4 separate regions of the Homo sapiens genome follow, and all the other regions are linked to region 3. The links are contacts of gene promoters, found by promoter capture Hi-C in blood cells and fetal thymus (Javierre and others, 2016). All regions are on one chromosome and are shown on one strand. Each heading gives the region's core, a stretch centred on a gene start or on the middle of the fragment in contact. The rest is flanking DNA. Distances are from core to core; before and after follow the strand shown.

Region 1 (3,302 bases), core at 723-3,222, 1.8 Mb after region 3:
TGACTATGGAGTTTCTGTCAAATGTGCTTCCAGCTGAATGATCACATTCTTTTGAATTATGAAGTGGCTGCAAACTGTGCTAATTGGGTCCACACTGATGTCACTGATAAGGATTAAACAGCCTTGATTGTCGTAAGGTCACAAATATATGTAATTTTGCTATACATGTATATTCCTTTTAGCGTAATCCATAACTATAGCCATGCGGAATTCTTTCGTTTAATTAAAATGGTCATTAAAGACATTAAGATGAATCAGAGGCAAATCATAAAGAGACGAATGGAATAGCTAAGAGCAAATGTAATGAAAGGTTAAATATCGTGATTTTTTTTATTATTTATGAAGTGTGAATAGTAATGCTTGGGAGTGCAGAAAATATTTAAGAGGGTTCCATCTTTGCCCAGAAGGATTGAGCTATAAATGCAGAAGAACAAAGAGCAAATATCAAGCCACAGAAATGTTGAGAAATAATGTCTTGAACGAATGTAGCTTTTCTTTTTGTGTATTACGAAATCTTTTCTACATTTAAAGACTTTCAGTGGTAAGCTTCTAAAAGGCAGGGACAAGACTAGAAGAATTTTGTACTCTAGCCAGAATACTGTAATTTACACATGGGCATTTATTAATTAATTACTGTTAGATATAAATGTAACAGTCCGTATGAGATTCTAGAAGACAGTAATGAACTTCTGCAACATAGTTCAGTGCTCTCTAGCCACAAAATTATACCGATATTTTAAACCGGTGAAATTTGAATAGAATAGTTGAAATTAGTAAATTATTAAAATAAGTTGCCAAGCTACTGAATATCAAAGTATAATAAATTACAATACTCTATTAAGAAACAAAATTGCCTACTCAGTTGCTTCATGAATTTAATATGGGTATGCTGAGTACTCTCAGTAAATAATGTTGTCATTGCATATTTTATACAAAAAGAGGTACAGAAACCAATATTTTCAAAACTTGAGATACTTTGCAATATGCAGGCTTAAAAAATACTAACTTGTCATATCAGCTTTTGTAGAAAAAAATACGAATAAGATTATGGTTGCCTTTAGTTTCTCTGATCTCATAAACACTCTGCTAGACCCCAAATGCTTTCCTGAATTTGTCCTTCTTGTCGGGTTTTGATATTTGTATATATGTTTATCCTCTCTATAAGCAATAGAGAGTATTTTACGTGTTTTATAATTTATAAAAATGATTTCTTAGTTACATATCCTTCAACTTGCTTTTCTCACTCAACATTAATTTGAGGAATATCAATATTGATACGTGTAACTCTGGTTCATTCATTTTAGATTCTTTATAGTATTTCAATTATCTCATCATTTGTTTCTTCAGTTAATTAAATATTTATTGAGCACCTACTACATTCCAGGCATTCTTCTAGGTGATGAAGACTTAACAGCCAACAAAATAGAAAAAGTGGCTGCTATTGGAAAGCTTACTTCTTAGGGAGTGGATTCCAACGGATGCATCTGTTCTTCTGTGGATGCTTTCAAGTTTTTATCATTACAAACAGTGCTACTGCAAACAACCCTAAACACAATCACTTGTGTATTATTTAAGAGGGGAAATAAAAGAAGTGGGATACGGGGTTTGTCCCTGAGGCCAACTTGTTATGTAAAGTGAGTAAGCTAAATTTACATGCCCATCCGGGATATAAGGGAACTCCCATCTATTCATATTCCCCCAACAGGGGTCTTGTTAAACTTCTGAACTTTCGCCTCCAGATGGGTCTGTAATGGTACTTCAGTGGCATTTGCATTTTGTTGATTCTAGGTGAGGTTGAGCATTCACTGTGTAATGACGGTCTCTTCATTTCTCATGGCTTATCTGTTTGTATTTATTGTCTATTTGTATATTAAGTTAGCTGTCTTTTTCATATTGATTTTCAGATGTTTTATGTGCTCTGGAAATTAATTTGTTATTGCCCATATGGGTTGCTTTTGTCTCTGTGTGTGGCTTATATTTTTTCCTTTTTAAAAACATACTGTTGTCCTGCAAAAGGTATTTCATTTCAATGCAATGATAGTTACTAATATTGTTGGTTAGGAGTCTGTATTCTTCATTTTTAAGGAAATTATCACTTACCTCAATGTCATAAGACATTCTGCTCTATTTTCTAAATGTATTAAAATTTGATTTTTAATATTTATGTCTTTAACTCATCAAAAATATAACTTATATTTGAAAAAAGGGGCTAGGTTTATTTCATTTTTCCATATGTGTAACTATGTTAGTTACTATGACGGTAGTTAGTACGAATGTTCATTACTCCTCTAGTTCTCTTCTCTCTGGGCCCACGAGAGGATAGGAGTGCTCTTTGGAACTGGATGTGTCCACGTGGCTCGCTTTGACCAATGGACTATGAGCAGAAGGATGTGTGTATACATTTAATGTAATGAGACTGGATCCAGAAAATAAGTAGAGAATTGGCTTTCTGCCTAGGTTCCCTCTGAGCAAATTTATAAAGTGGGTGAAGCTTTTTTGGATGTACCCGTATCGTTCTTCTGTCTCTGTCATCTACTGCCTATCCGCTTGTTATCAGGTACTCTCTCAAGGTAGCGTATTATTAAAGCACTGTCTATATTGACAAGACTTCATCCTCTGCACTTATCTCTTCACCCTCCACCCAAAAGCAAAGTATAGTAAAACAAACCTATCCTAAAATCCACTCTCCAAAGAACGCTACAGTCTCCCAGTTATAACTATTGGATAGGAAAATTACTAAGAAATTCACTGCTTCCTTTTTTCCAGCAGTGAGGTCATAGTGACAAGATATTTGCATTCTTATAGGGAATAATAAGGCTTCAAAAATCCACAGAAATGAATTTCAAAAGATTTGAATTTAAGCAGACTTTGTTTTAAAAAAACAGTCCTACCGCTTACTAGCTGTGTGACTTTGGACAAGCTTCTCAACCACTCTATACCTCAGCATTCTCATCTTTGCAACAGAGATAATAATACCTAGATTACAGTGTTGATACGAGAATTAAAATCAATTGTGTCCATACTGAATGCTTCGTAGAGTGCCTGGCACATAGTAAGTACTCATAAATGAGGCTATATGTATTATGATGTTATTGTTGCTCTTACAATTGTAATAGTGATTGTGCTATGCCTTGAGGTTAGGAGAACAGAAGTTTTAGGGTAGAGTGCTTTCCTGATATCACAAGACATTCCTAATAGCACAAGAGGCAGGCAGCTTTCTGCTTTGTCCATTGAGAAAAATTGCTTATTTGAGTATTATCTTTTTTGAGGCTTCAGAGGTAATACAAGGAGTTAAGGAATTG
Region 2 (3,654 bases), core at 304-2,803, 1.8 Mb after region 3:
GTTAGTCATTTTTCTGCCTTAAAAGCTGGAATCTTAGGTGGACATTTTGGAGGCCTAGGAGGCATTTTTGTTCTTCTTGTTCAAGCTTTAAACTGTCCTTTTCTTTTCCATATGAGCGACTGTAACCCACATGATATTGGGCATAAAGTGTTTAAGAAGTATTGTCCAGAACTACTCCTGCCTGGGGGACAGTAAATGATATTATACGAAGTGTCATGGTACTGTGCAAATAGGGAATTCATTTTCAATTCAAACTGCAAGCAGGAAGACACTCTTCCCTGCCAAAGGGGGTTTCAAACCCCTCATTAATAGAGTCCACAGCAGACTCGGCCAGCAGGAGAAGAAAAGGCAGCCACCAGCGTGGAGGATGCCGTGCCCAGGCCTGACACCCAGATTAGAGCACTGGACCACAGCACACAGCAGCTGCTGATAAGGTTAACAAGCAAATCTTTAGCGTTCGCAGCCTCTCCTCTAAATAAACCCATATGCAGAGATTTCAGTGTCCTGAATCAAGAAGTGGTCAGTTCAGTGCAGATCTCAGATTGAAACAAGGCTCCAGAGAAGTTCTCCAGTGAATGCTTCCTAAGGAGGGAGGGGGGCTGATAACATAACCCTGGGATGTCCTTTTACTTCTGTGGGTATGGATTCCTCGGATAAATGCTATGGACTCACTTATTATTAACAACAACAACAAAACAAAAACAAAAACAAGAAAAACTTTATTTGGGGAATAAAGTTTATGAGTTAAAAAATCTCTGTAAGCATTCTGTACAAATTCCTAGATGGCATAGTAGTCCTACTTCATTTATTATATCAAGTTTATTTTTCCCAGAATCTTCAAAACTACATGGGCGGAAGTTTTTCTGAGTATCCTCTTCCAGATCAGTACATTCCAAGCTTTAATGTGCCCCCGAATCACCTGGGGGCATTGTGAAAATACGGCTTCTGATTCAGAGGATCTGGGTGGGTCTTAGATTCTGAATTTTTAACCCGCTCCTAGGCGACGCAGAATCTTCTAGTCCATGGACCAACGTTGAGTCGCAAGGCTTTAGGTTACAAAATCTCGTACACAACTACAAAAAGTAGTGATGCTGATCATAACTTCACAGAAACCCTTACTATACCCGGGAACCACTCCTCCCAAGTCAGGTAAGGGCACTCAACATTAGTTGGCATTTTTTTGTGGGGGGTGAGGAGAGCGGGAATTCCCTCTCCCATACTCTGAGGCTAACTAGTAAGGTAATAACACCTTCACAGGGTTTTTGTTCAGACTGACTGGCTGTGTGTTTTTGCCCTTTTAAAATAAATGTTGATATCTTTGGTCTGGAGGAAACAAAGGAAGTCACGTGACTTGGAATTCCTGGTGGTGTCTTGAAGATGGCTGTTCTGTTTCTCAAGCGAGGAGGAGGAGAATAACATATGGATATATTGCGGGCCGCCCGTGCCATCTTCTGAATTGCCAGACCACGTTGTAAGGTGCAGCAGATGGCCGGAGCAGCGGGACGTGCCAAATGCTGCACTCCAGAGCCCTTCCGCAAGGTGCTTGCTCTGGGAGCAGTAGCAGAGCTCAAGAATATGCTTACGGCCCTTCACAAAGACAAATTATCTGGTAGCTCTTCAGATGGTGCTAGCAAAATCATCTCATTGGGTGGATGATTTACCTCCGCTATGCACTGGCAATTCAACACTGTATTAGGAAAGGGAAAAAATAACTTATTAAAGGTTTTCAAAATATAAACTTTTCTTTCGCAGAACTTGGGCAAAAAGTGCTGATCTCTGATGAGTTCATTCCTTGCAACAACAGAGGAAATGAGCTCAATTTCCTGTCGTGGATGAAGCCCTCACCTCCTCTCCTGCCTCCTCTCCCTCTGACGTCCTCTAGGCCCTTCTGCTTTGGACAGCATGGTAGTGCCCTTCCATCTTGACCTGCCTTTCTGGCCACCATGTTTTTCCTCTGAGGTTTTGTGCCTTCCCACAATGCTCTGCCCTACCTGGTTGTTTAAATTTGACTCATTCTTGAAGACACACTCATATTCTAGCTCCGCCTAATGGTCTTTCCAACCTAAAGTAATACTGCCTTCCTCCACACTTGTCAGATCCCATCATTTGACAGGCAAGAGTGTCTCTTTGTGACAGTTCTTAATTTTATTGTCCTTCTGTAACTTCTCAAATGGATATGAGTTCTCTCTTCATTTAGCTGATAAGCTTCTTTAAAGCGACAAATATTCTTAGAATTTTCAAAAGCATGGCAGTCGATAAATACCTTCTTACTTAGGTTTTGAAGTGAAACACAAGGCAGGTATAGACCGTGGCCTTCCTCTCAAGGCCCAGGGCCCCTGAGCCCTGTGTTCAGAACTTCAGTGCTCATGAACACAACACCAAAGACAGGAGCAGGGATGCCAAGACTGAGGCCCCATTTCTCTTTCCTCCCAGCAATGGGTTGAGGACAACCCTTTCTCCTTCTATAGTAGCTGTCCTGCCGGTTTGCTTCTTGGGCTCCATGGATTGGAGTAGGTGGAGTGGGGGTAGCCATGCTTATGCCTGAGGGTAGCTGATGCTGTTATTTCCCGTGTCTTATTCTCCCATCATTACTCAGGAGACTTCTTATCCTAGGAACTCCAGGACCTGAGTCTGGATTTGTGTAGCACACACTGGATTCAAAAATATATTGTTAGTTGTCATAATAATGTTACAGAAAGCCATTATTTTGTTTTGAATCAAATTTGAAATCCTTCCTTGGAAGGAGCCCCCACTCAGTTCAAGCCAATTGGCTTAATATCTCCATCACCTAGTCATTCCACACAAGCCTTTTCCAAACTGTGCCATATTCTTGGAATGCTCTCTCTTTCTGTCTGCCAAGCTATCTCTCTTCTAGCATCCAAATAGCTCATGAAATCCCAGCTCCTGTACACAGTCTTCCAGAACTATTTGGAAAAGGTCTAATAGCTTCCCTCTGCACCATCGGGTGTGAGCATTAGCCACTTAAGGCTCTCTCACTCCTCACTGCTCTGCTAATGCACTTGTTCTTGAAATGGACAGCAAGTTACATTAACCAATGTTTTGCATTGCTCAATTGTCTGCATTTTTTGCCCTTATATAGATTGTCTTTATATTCAGATTTGTTTAGGCTCATGGTCTACTTTTGACAGATTCTACGGAAATAAGACTATAACTAAATCTCTTCTTACAGTGCTGAGTGCTGAGTGTAATATCATGTAGACACAGATACTTAATGCATAAGGAGATTTCTCAGATTTGACTTTTTAATGTACAAAGAATATGGAACATATTTAATATTTCACAAGTCCACCAGGACCTGCCAGAGACCTCTGTTAGCCTTGGGCAAGGATGGCAATTTCCATGGGGGTTCATTTCTCAGTTGGCTGCGCAGTAGCTGCCATTGGTAGTAATTGTAGGCAGTGCAAAGGGGAATTAATAGGATGTCTTCAGCGCTGAGGGACAAGATCAGGAAAGGTCATTCTCTGAGAGGGAAATCTAGTAGGAGCATAGCATGGCTTAGAGTAGTAAGCTACGAGAGCTTCCCTTCCGTTAGAGAAGGCTGAAGAAAGCAGTGCTAGGAACAACTGGGAAACCACCTTCGACTTGGCAAGTGCCTGGCACAGAGTGGGTGCTCACCGTGGATTTGTCAAATGC
Region 3 (3,621 bases), core at 255-2,754:
CCCAAAGACTGTAGATGAGTGTGACAAAGACCAAGCGGTGGATTTGGGAGGAGGAGGGAAACCAGGGGCTCGGGATATATGACACATTTTAGCGGCAACAAGACAGCCATGTAAAGTCAACTTGAAATTAAAAATCATCATCTTAATCTATGTGGCTCTTTCAAGCCTGAGTCTTATCAAGGCAAAAAAAAAAAAAAAAAAATCTATAGTTAACGATGAAGTATTTCTCCCTTTTGCTTTCCCGGCATCCACCAAGAGCAGTACATAATTTAATTATTGAATCTACAAGCTGGACCATGAGATGAAGAATGATGTGTCTGCTGTAGTGAGAAATTAGATAGAACCAACTGTTTACTCTCATCATTCTTCCTCCGTTAGGCTAAATTAATATAGTTAACAAGCTTTTGTTTGGAATAGCAGTTCAAATCTGGGATGTGCAGATCAGAACTGGCGATTATTACAGTAGCTGTTATTTATGGAGTGCTGACAGTCCCCTCAAGTCCCATGAATGAAACAGAAAGGGGTTCTTCTGTCATTCTCTGTGCTAGAACCACTGTAAGGGGCTAGACGTCTGCACAGGGTAACGAAGTTCATGAAAACCAGATTAAGTTGCTTGGGGCATACGACTCCAGAAATGTCACTGATGGTCTTTCCTATTGCCCTGTTTTTCTCATCTTTGAAACAACTGCAACAAAATGTGCACTATATAAGTGGGCGAGCATTACCAGGAGGTAACATGCAGGTGGGGTGCCTGTGCGGTGATACGGGTCGAGCAGGGCGCGGCAGGCTTTAGCAAACACCTCAGGCCCTTCCGCACAATTTGAGCAGAAACTGAAAGCCTGTCAGGCGCAGCCAAATGCAAATCTAGCTTCGAGGCACTGAGCCTCGAGGCACAGCGCCCCCGCCGGACCCAGTTCCCTGCCCCATCCAGTGTGTGAAACTGTGACCCAGCCACCGGCCAAGGGTCCCCACGGGGACGCTGCGACACAGCGGGCTCACTCCAGAGACCCAAACCAGGTCTCCCCACCTCCCGCCCCGCCAGTTTCACGGCACTAGATTCTTGGGGTCGTCTTTTAATCACAATCTCCATAGCCGTGTCTCTAAGCAGTTGATGGAACACGGATGGTGGGGAAAACCTCACCACCGCCACCACCACCAAACCAAGCAGCCCCCGACGGTCGTGCAGTCAGGCCCGGGAGCGCCCAACTCGCGGCCACCCAGCGCCACGCGTGACCCGGGCAGCGGGGCGACCTCGGGGCGGTCTGGCACCCGGGAAGTAGTTTGTGCTCGGGCTCTGAACACCGCCGGCCGGACCGCGGGCTGCGTCACGGGGACCGGGAGGCGTACGGCGACGCGGAGCAGCGCCTTTGCGGCGTGCGACCCGCCCCCGCCGTCCCTCCCTCCCTCCCCTCAGGGCTTCGGGCCCCCGGGGCCAGCCGCCGTCCTGCGAACGCGCGGCGCCCGGGCCGCTGCCCCCTTCCGGCCCCGCGGCGGCCCCGCCTCCTCCCCCGACTTCCTTCCCTGAGCACGGCGGCGGCGGGGACGAGCACCGGCCTGCGCGCGGAGCCGGCACCGGATGGTGGGCGGGGGCCAGCCGTGCGGGTACGCGGCCCGCGCGCCCCTAGCCACCGCCGCGTGGCACCGTCCCGAGCGCGTGGCGCGGGGCGCTGGCTGCCGGGCGGGGGCCTGGGGCCGCGGACGCTGGGGGCGCCTCGGCCGCGCTCAGCCTTTAGATCGGAGAATGCGGGCGGGGTGGGGGCGCTCGGGGTCCCCGCAGTCACTCCAGGGTCGATTTCTCGGCGGGCGCCGCGGCCTGTGCGAGGCCGGGCCCCTTGGAGTGCCCCGGGAGGTGGTGCTGGGCGTCTGAACACCACATCCCTTCCTGCGCCCGTGTGTGGGTTGGGAATGCCGGGTGTAGGCCCTGGATCAGAGCTGACGGGGTTGCGAGCGGCGTGGGGTGTGCCTGGGACGGTGACCGGATGTGTCTTCCTGAATCGTTGTATTCGAGCTCCAGTTCTCTCTGTTTCTACAGCTGGGCCTCAGTCCTCACAGGGCTCTAGTGGGCGTTCAGCCACACCAGGAGAAGGCGCCCAGGGGATTAACAGGACCCTTCCCTCTCCTGCTCTTCCCTCGCCCCCCATGGCTCCCCCTCCCTCCTATTTAGTAGGTACTTCTCCAGCACCCCACAGCGATGATGGATGCTGGCCCTAAAGCCAGGTGGGAAACCAGGCTGATTCAGCACCTGTCTTTTCCTGTTAGGGGGGTTGCCAGGCCTCTCAGATGTGGGGCAGCGTAATCAGTGGGTGACCGTGGTTCCCAGCACCCACTCTCCACTGCATCCTTGTCTTAGGCACTGCCGCCCTGCACTGTAGCAGATGCCTAAATAAAGTGTGGAGCCTGAAGCAGAAGTTTTGGGAGATGCTTGCCTTCCTTTAGACCACATTCCTCGCCTTTCTCAAGATTTCTCCGTGGTACCCACCCCGTTTTTGTGTTGTCTTCCTTCCTTGCCCTTGTTTCATTCCTTTTGAAAGCGACCACTCCCCTGAAGTCCTAGGACCCCCTTCGTGGGCTCTCCCTGCCGTAGACAGTCTCTGCTTGCCCCTGGTAAACTACGTTCCAAAAACCTTGCTTTAGGAGTAGCACTTGACGTTTTTCATAGTTTCTTCTCATGTAATTCATTACTCGGAGTTGATAACTTCTGTCCCATCTGGATTATTGAGGAGAAAGGGAAGGGAAAAATTATCTGGTTAATATCAGAGTTGGGAAGGCTTCAGATGTTTTCTTTGAATCCGTCTGGCATGGATGATAATCCTGTGTGGTTTAGGTTAAGTTACCTAAGTTCTCTGAGTCTGTGTAAGATGGGATGGCACTGTCTACCTTAGCTAGGAGTAAGGCTTGAGTGACATGATGTGTATAAACTTTAACAATGTCTGGAATCTATAGATGATCAATAAATATTTCTTTTTTCCACCCTCCTCCTGTGCTGACTCCGCTTTGTAAGGGAGACAGGTAAAGGACACAACAATTTGTAGGCTGGCATAAAAAATCCTATGAGAAAGCAGTAAATAGATGAAATATTTGGGAACGTGAAGCTATAGGTTTCAAATTCAAACTTCTGAAATAGGAAATTTCTTAAGTTTTTACTTAAGACCAGAGACTGTTTAGGGCCCATGTGCTGTGATTTCTGATTGATAAATGTAGCTGAAGTTGCCCATGTTTAGAGATTTAAAGGTTCAGTGTGGTTGGGTTGAACTGGAAAACAGACTTACTAAAATGCTTCTCTCAACTTCTGTTTTGTCATGTTTTTCTTCTAGACCCAACATGAGTGAAGTTTCCTGCAAGAAACGGGACGACTATTTGGAATGGCCAGAGTATTTTATGGCTGTGGCCTTCTTATCAGCACAGAGAAGCAAAGATCCAAATTCCCAGGTAAATGAATTTCACGGGAGAATGCTTAGATACTCACAGGCAAAGAGATTACTGCACATGAGCAGAAAGGGGAGACTCAGTGGACGCCTGTCAACTTAAAAGTGCAGGGTCGGTCTGCCTTTTGTGCTGCGTTTCTACAAGCTTAGTTCTTCCTGTGAGACAGAAAATTGTCACATGCCATTGTTAACTGCC
Region 4 (3,228 bases), core at 682-3,181, 1.8 Mb after region 3:
CCAGGAACACTATTCCCAAGTGGCACTTCACCATTGCCAAAAGACTATCAACAGCCCTTTCCTCTGGCCCTTCAGAAGACGCCTTCATTGAACCCTCAACACAGAGCCGGACCCCACTTGGGGATACAGAACACCATGGCCCCTGGTTGCCACTGGAGCTCTTCCTGCAAAGAGCAAATTCACCCTAAAGGCTTCCATGCTGTATTATTGTGCTCTTTAAAAAGAATTAAATTCTCAACTCTGAGAAAATGTATTCCTTGACAAGGTGCCGAAAAAGTTTTGTTAGACAACAAATCTAGTCAAGTCGGAAGAGAGAGGCTGTCCTTCTCTGTGACTGTTTGGCCCCTCCTTGGAAACGGGTGTATTCAGAATCTCCCACATGCCTGTGAGTACGATTTTAGGTTTGCCCCTCCCCAGTTTCTGCTTTTAGGTTGTATAGGACTCCACAGAGTTTCACACTTTACACATATTTTCTAATTTCCACTTTTACTTTTATAAATGATTCCCTGGAAGTTTGTCCCCACACCAGTTCATTTCCCTTTCCTTCTTTTTATTACACTTAGCCTTTGTATTTTCCCAGAAGAAAGGCTCCAAATAAATTATTTCTACCTATACTCCTTTAATTTTGAACAAAGTTGCTTAAATGAATGTGGGCATGCCTGTTCCAATTAATCAGCTGGGCTCAGGCAAAGGGAGGCCAGGTTCTTGCTGTGTATTTCCCTCAGCATTAGGTCAAGAGCAAGACATACCTACTACGTAATCACAAAAATTAAAAAAAAATTAAAAAGAGCAGCTGTGACTTTCTGTCCGTTGGTTGGTTCTTCTCTTGACCACTGTCTGGAAAGACATCATCTGCTTTTAGATTGGGCTACATGCACTGTGAGAGAGTCTTTATAATGATTACTCTCTCTCTGCCTCCCTTTGGCTACACACACAAATTTTAGGGCAACACTGAAATAGGCATTGCTTATTGTCTTTCCAACCTACACTGTCAGAAAAAATGAGGTCAGCCAAGATGAGGAAAGTGGTATGATCCAAGATCCAACATTATTAGGTCCTCAGTTTTTGTTATTTTGGAGATAAACTAATGCATATATTAGAGAAATAAGCAAAAGATTTAAGGCCTATGGAAATCAATTGAGTCAAGAGAGATGTTTTTGGAATTGTCTCTTTCTCAGGTGAGGGAAGACAAATTACGATTTCTTCTGTGGCTTTTGAGAGTCTCACGATACTTTTGGCTCTCAGAGTTCTACTAAAAACTTGGTTAACATGACCATCAGTTTTTCTAAAATGCACACACACACATACACACACTCTTAATAAACACTTATTATAGTTGTAATGGAAGGGCCTTTTAAACGAATTAACACCATTTTATTGAGGTACTTAATAATAGGTAAGACCTGTATTTTAAGATTCTGCTCCCAAATGAAGGCACCCTGCCAGGTGATGTAGCAGATAAGATGTGGACAGTATGTCAAGGCCCACATGACACTAATGGGGCAATACATCCGATAGGATATGGTTTGGCTTTGTGTCCCCACGCAAATCTCATCTCGAATTGTAATCCCCAGGTGTTAAGGGAAAGACCTGGTGGGTGGTTGTTGCGGGAAGTCAGGGAACCCGAACAGAGGGAATGGCTGAAACCATGGCAGAAGAACATAAATTGTGAAGATTTCATGGACATTTGTTAGTTCCCCAAATTAATACTTTTATAATTTCTTACTCCTGTCTTTAATCTCTTAATCCTGTCATCCTTATAAGCTGAGGATGTATGTCACCTCAGAACCCTGTGATGATTGTGTTATCTGTACAAATTGTTTGTGAAGCCTGTGTGTTTGAACAATATGAAATCTGGGCACCTTGAACAGGATAACAGCGATTTTCAGGGAGCAAGGGAGATAACCATAAAGTCTGACTGCCTGCTAGGCCGGGCAGAACAGAGTCATATTTCTCTTCTTTCAGAAAGCAAATAGGAGAAATATCACTGAATTCTTTTCTCAGCAAAGAATAACCCTGGGAAAACGAATGCATTCCCAGGGGGAGGTCTCTAAAATGGCCGCTCTGGGAGTGTCTGTCTTATGTCTTATGCAGTTATAGATAAGGGGTGAAATACACCCTGGTCTCCTGCAGCGCTCCCAGGCTTATTAGGATTAGGACATTCCAGCCTGGCGAATTCTAGTCAGACCGATTGTCTGCTCTCGAACCCTGTTTCCTGTTAAGATGTTTGTCAATGACAATGTGTGCCCAGAAGGACATGGACCTTCATCAGTAATTCTAGTTTCACCCTGGCCTTGTGATCTCACTCTGCCTCTCTGCCCTTGTGATATCGTATTGCCTTTGAAGCACGTGATCTCTGTGACCCACACCCTATTCGTACACCCCCTCCCCTTTTTGAGACCCGTAATAAAAACTTGCTGGTTTTGCAGCTCAGGGGGTCATCACGGAACCTGCCGACATGTGACGTCACCCCCGGAGACACAGCTGTAAAATTTCTTGCTTTTGTACTCTTTATTTCTCAGACCAGCCGACACTTAGGGAAAATAGAAAAGAACCTATGTTGAAATACTGGGGGCTGGTTCCCCAGATAGGTGGTGATTAGATCATAGGGACAGTTTCCCCTGTTGCGAAAAGCTGAGTGTTGGGAGAAGCTGAGGCAGGGCTTGCATGTCTGACGTAATGTAAAAGAGTCTTAGAACATGTCCGGGGTCCAGGGTCTTAAACCCCTTGTGGCCTTTGGAACACCAAACTCTGTGCTAAAGGGTGGAAGTCTACCCTGACGCACCATAATCTAAGCCCAGGGCAGAAAACCCCTCGTGGCTTGGATGAAATCCCAGGCTCCTGGCTCTGGAATGTGTCTAGACTTGCTGGCTCCTTGCTTCTAGCCCTCCCAGGCTCCTAGATTGATTGTGTCTTACAGTTGGCCATATAAATGCTAAACCATCACAGCTGTAAATCATGTGATTAATGCAATGCTCCCTTTCGACCCCCCACATTCTCTCCACCTGTTTCATTGTTTGATCAGTAATAAATAGTCCGGGCTTCCAGAACTCAGGGACTTCTCAGCCTCCATACTTAGCGATGGCCCCCTGATCCCACTTTCTCTCTCAAACTGTCTTTTCTCATTCCTTTGACTCCACCTGACTTTGTTGCCCCCATGACCTGATGTTGGGTCCAATTACCCCAGCATTCCCCCATGCTGTTCTCATGAGAGTGAGTGAATTCTCA

The links. Contacts are between HindIII fragments. The CHiCAGO score rates a contact against its expected background, and 5 or more counts as called.
Region 1: a contact is called between a fragment that was not itself captured here and the fragment with the promoter of DCTD in region 3, in 1 of 17 cell types (endothelial precursors). The highest score is 5.9, in endothelial precursors.
Region 2: a fragment that was not itself captured here is called in contact with the fragment with the promoter of DCTD in region 3 in 4 of 17 cell types (endothelial precursors, naive B cells, total B cells and 1 more); the score reaches 14.6 in endothelial precursors.
Region 4: a contact is called between a fragment that was not itself captured here and the fragment with the promoter of DCTD in region 3, in 1 of 17 cell types (endothelial precursors). The highest score is 6.4, in endothelial precursors.

What each region holds. Positions count from the first base shown.
Region 1 is chr4:181,165,306-181,168,607 of GRCh38, reverse strand. No RefSeq gene overlaps it. Among named protein-coding and RNA genes, the nearest start is that of LINC00290, 7.8 kb to the right of the region's middle. RefSeq lists an enhancer at 1,166-1,997. The HindIII fragment of the contact is 1,042 bases long and covers 1,452-2,493 here.
Region 2 is chr4:181,145,449-181,149,102 of GRCh38, reverse strand. All of the region lies in intron 2 of LINC00290 (long intergenic non-protein coding RNA 290), which reads left to right. Among named protein-coding and RNA genes, the nearest start is that of LINC00290, 12 kb to the left of the region's middle. RefSeq lists an enhancer at 1,103-2,302. The HindIII fragment of the contact is 1,308 bases long and covers 900-2,207 here.
Region 3 is chr4:182,915,269-182,918,889 of GRCh38, reverse strand. It overlaps DCTD (dCMP deaminase), which reads left to right and starts at 1,504. Exons shown (of 6, transcript NM_001921.3): 1 at 1,504-1,579; 2 at 3,315-3,429. The coding sequence starts at 3,322. RefSeq lists a silencer at 1,163-1,872. The HindIII fragment of the contact is 3,169 bases long and covers 404-3,572 here.
Region 4 is chr4:181,129,392-181,132,619 of GRCh38, reverse strand. All of the region lies in intron 2 of LINC00290 (long intergenic non-protein coding RNA 290), which reads left to right. Among named protein-coding and RNA genes, the nearest start is that of LINC00290, 28 kb to the left of the region's middle. The HindIII fragment of the contact is 5,707 bases long and covers 1-3,228 here.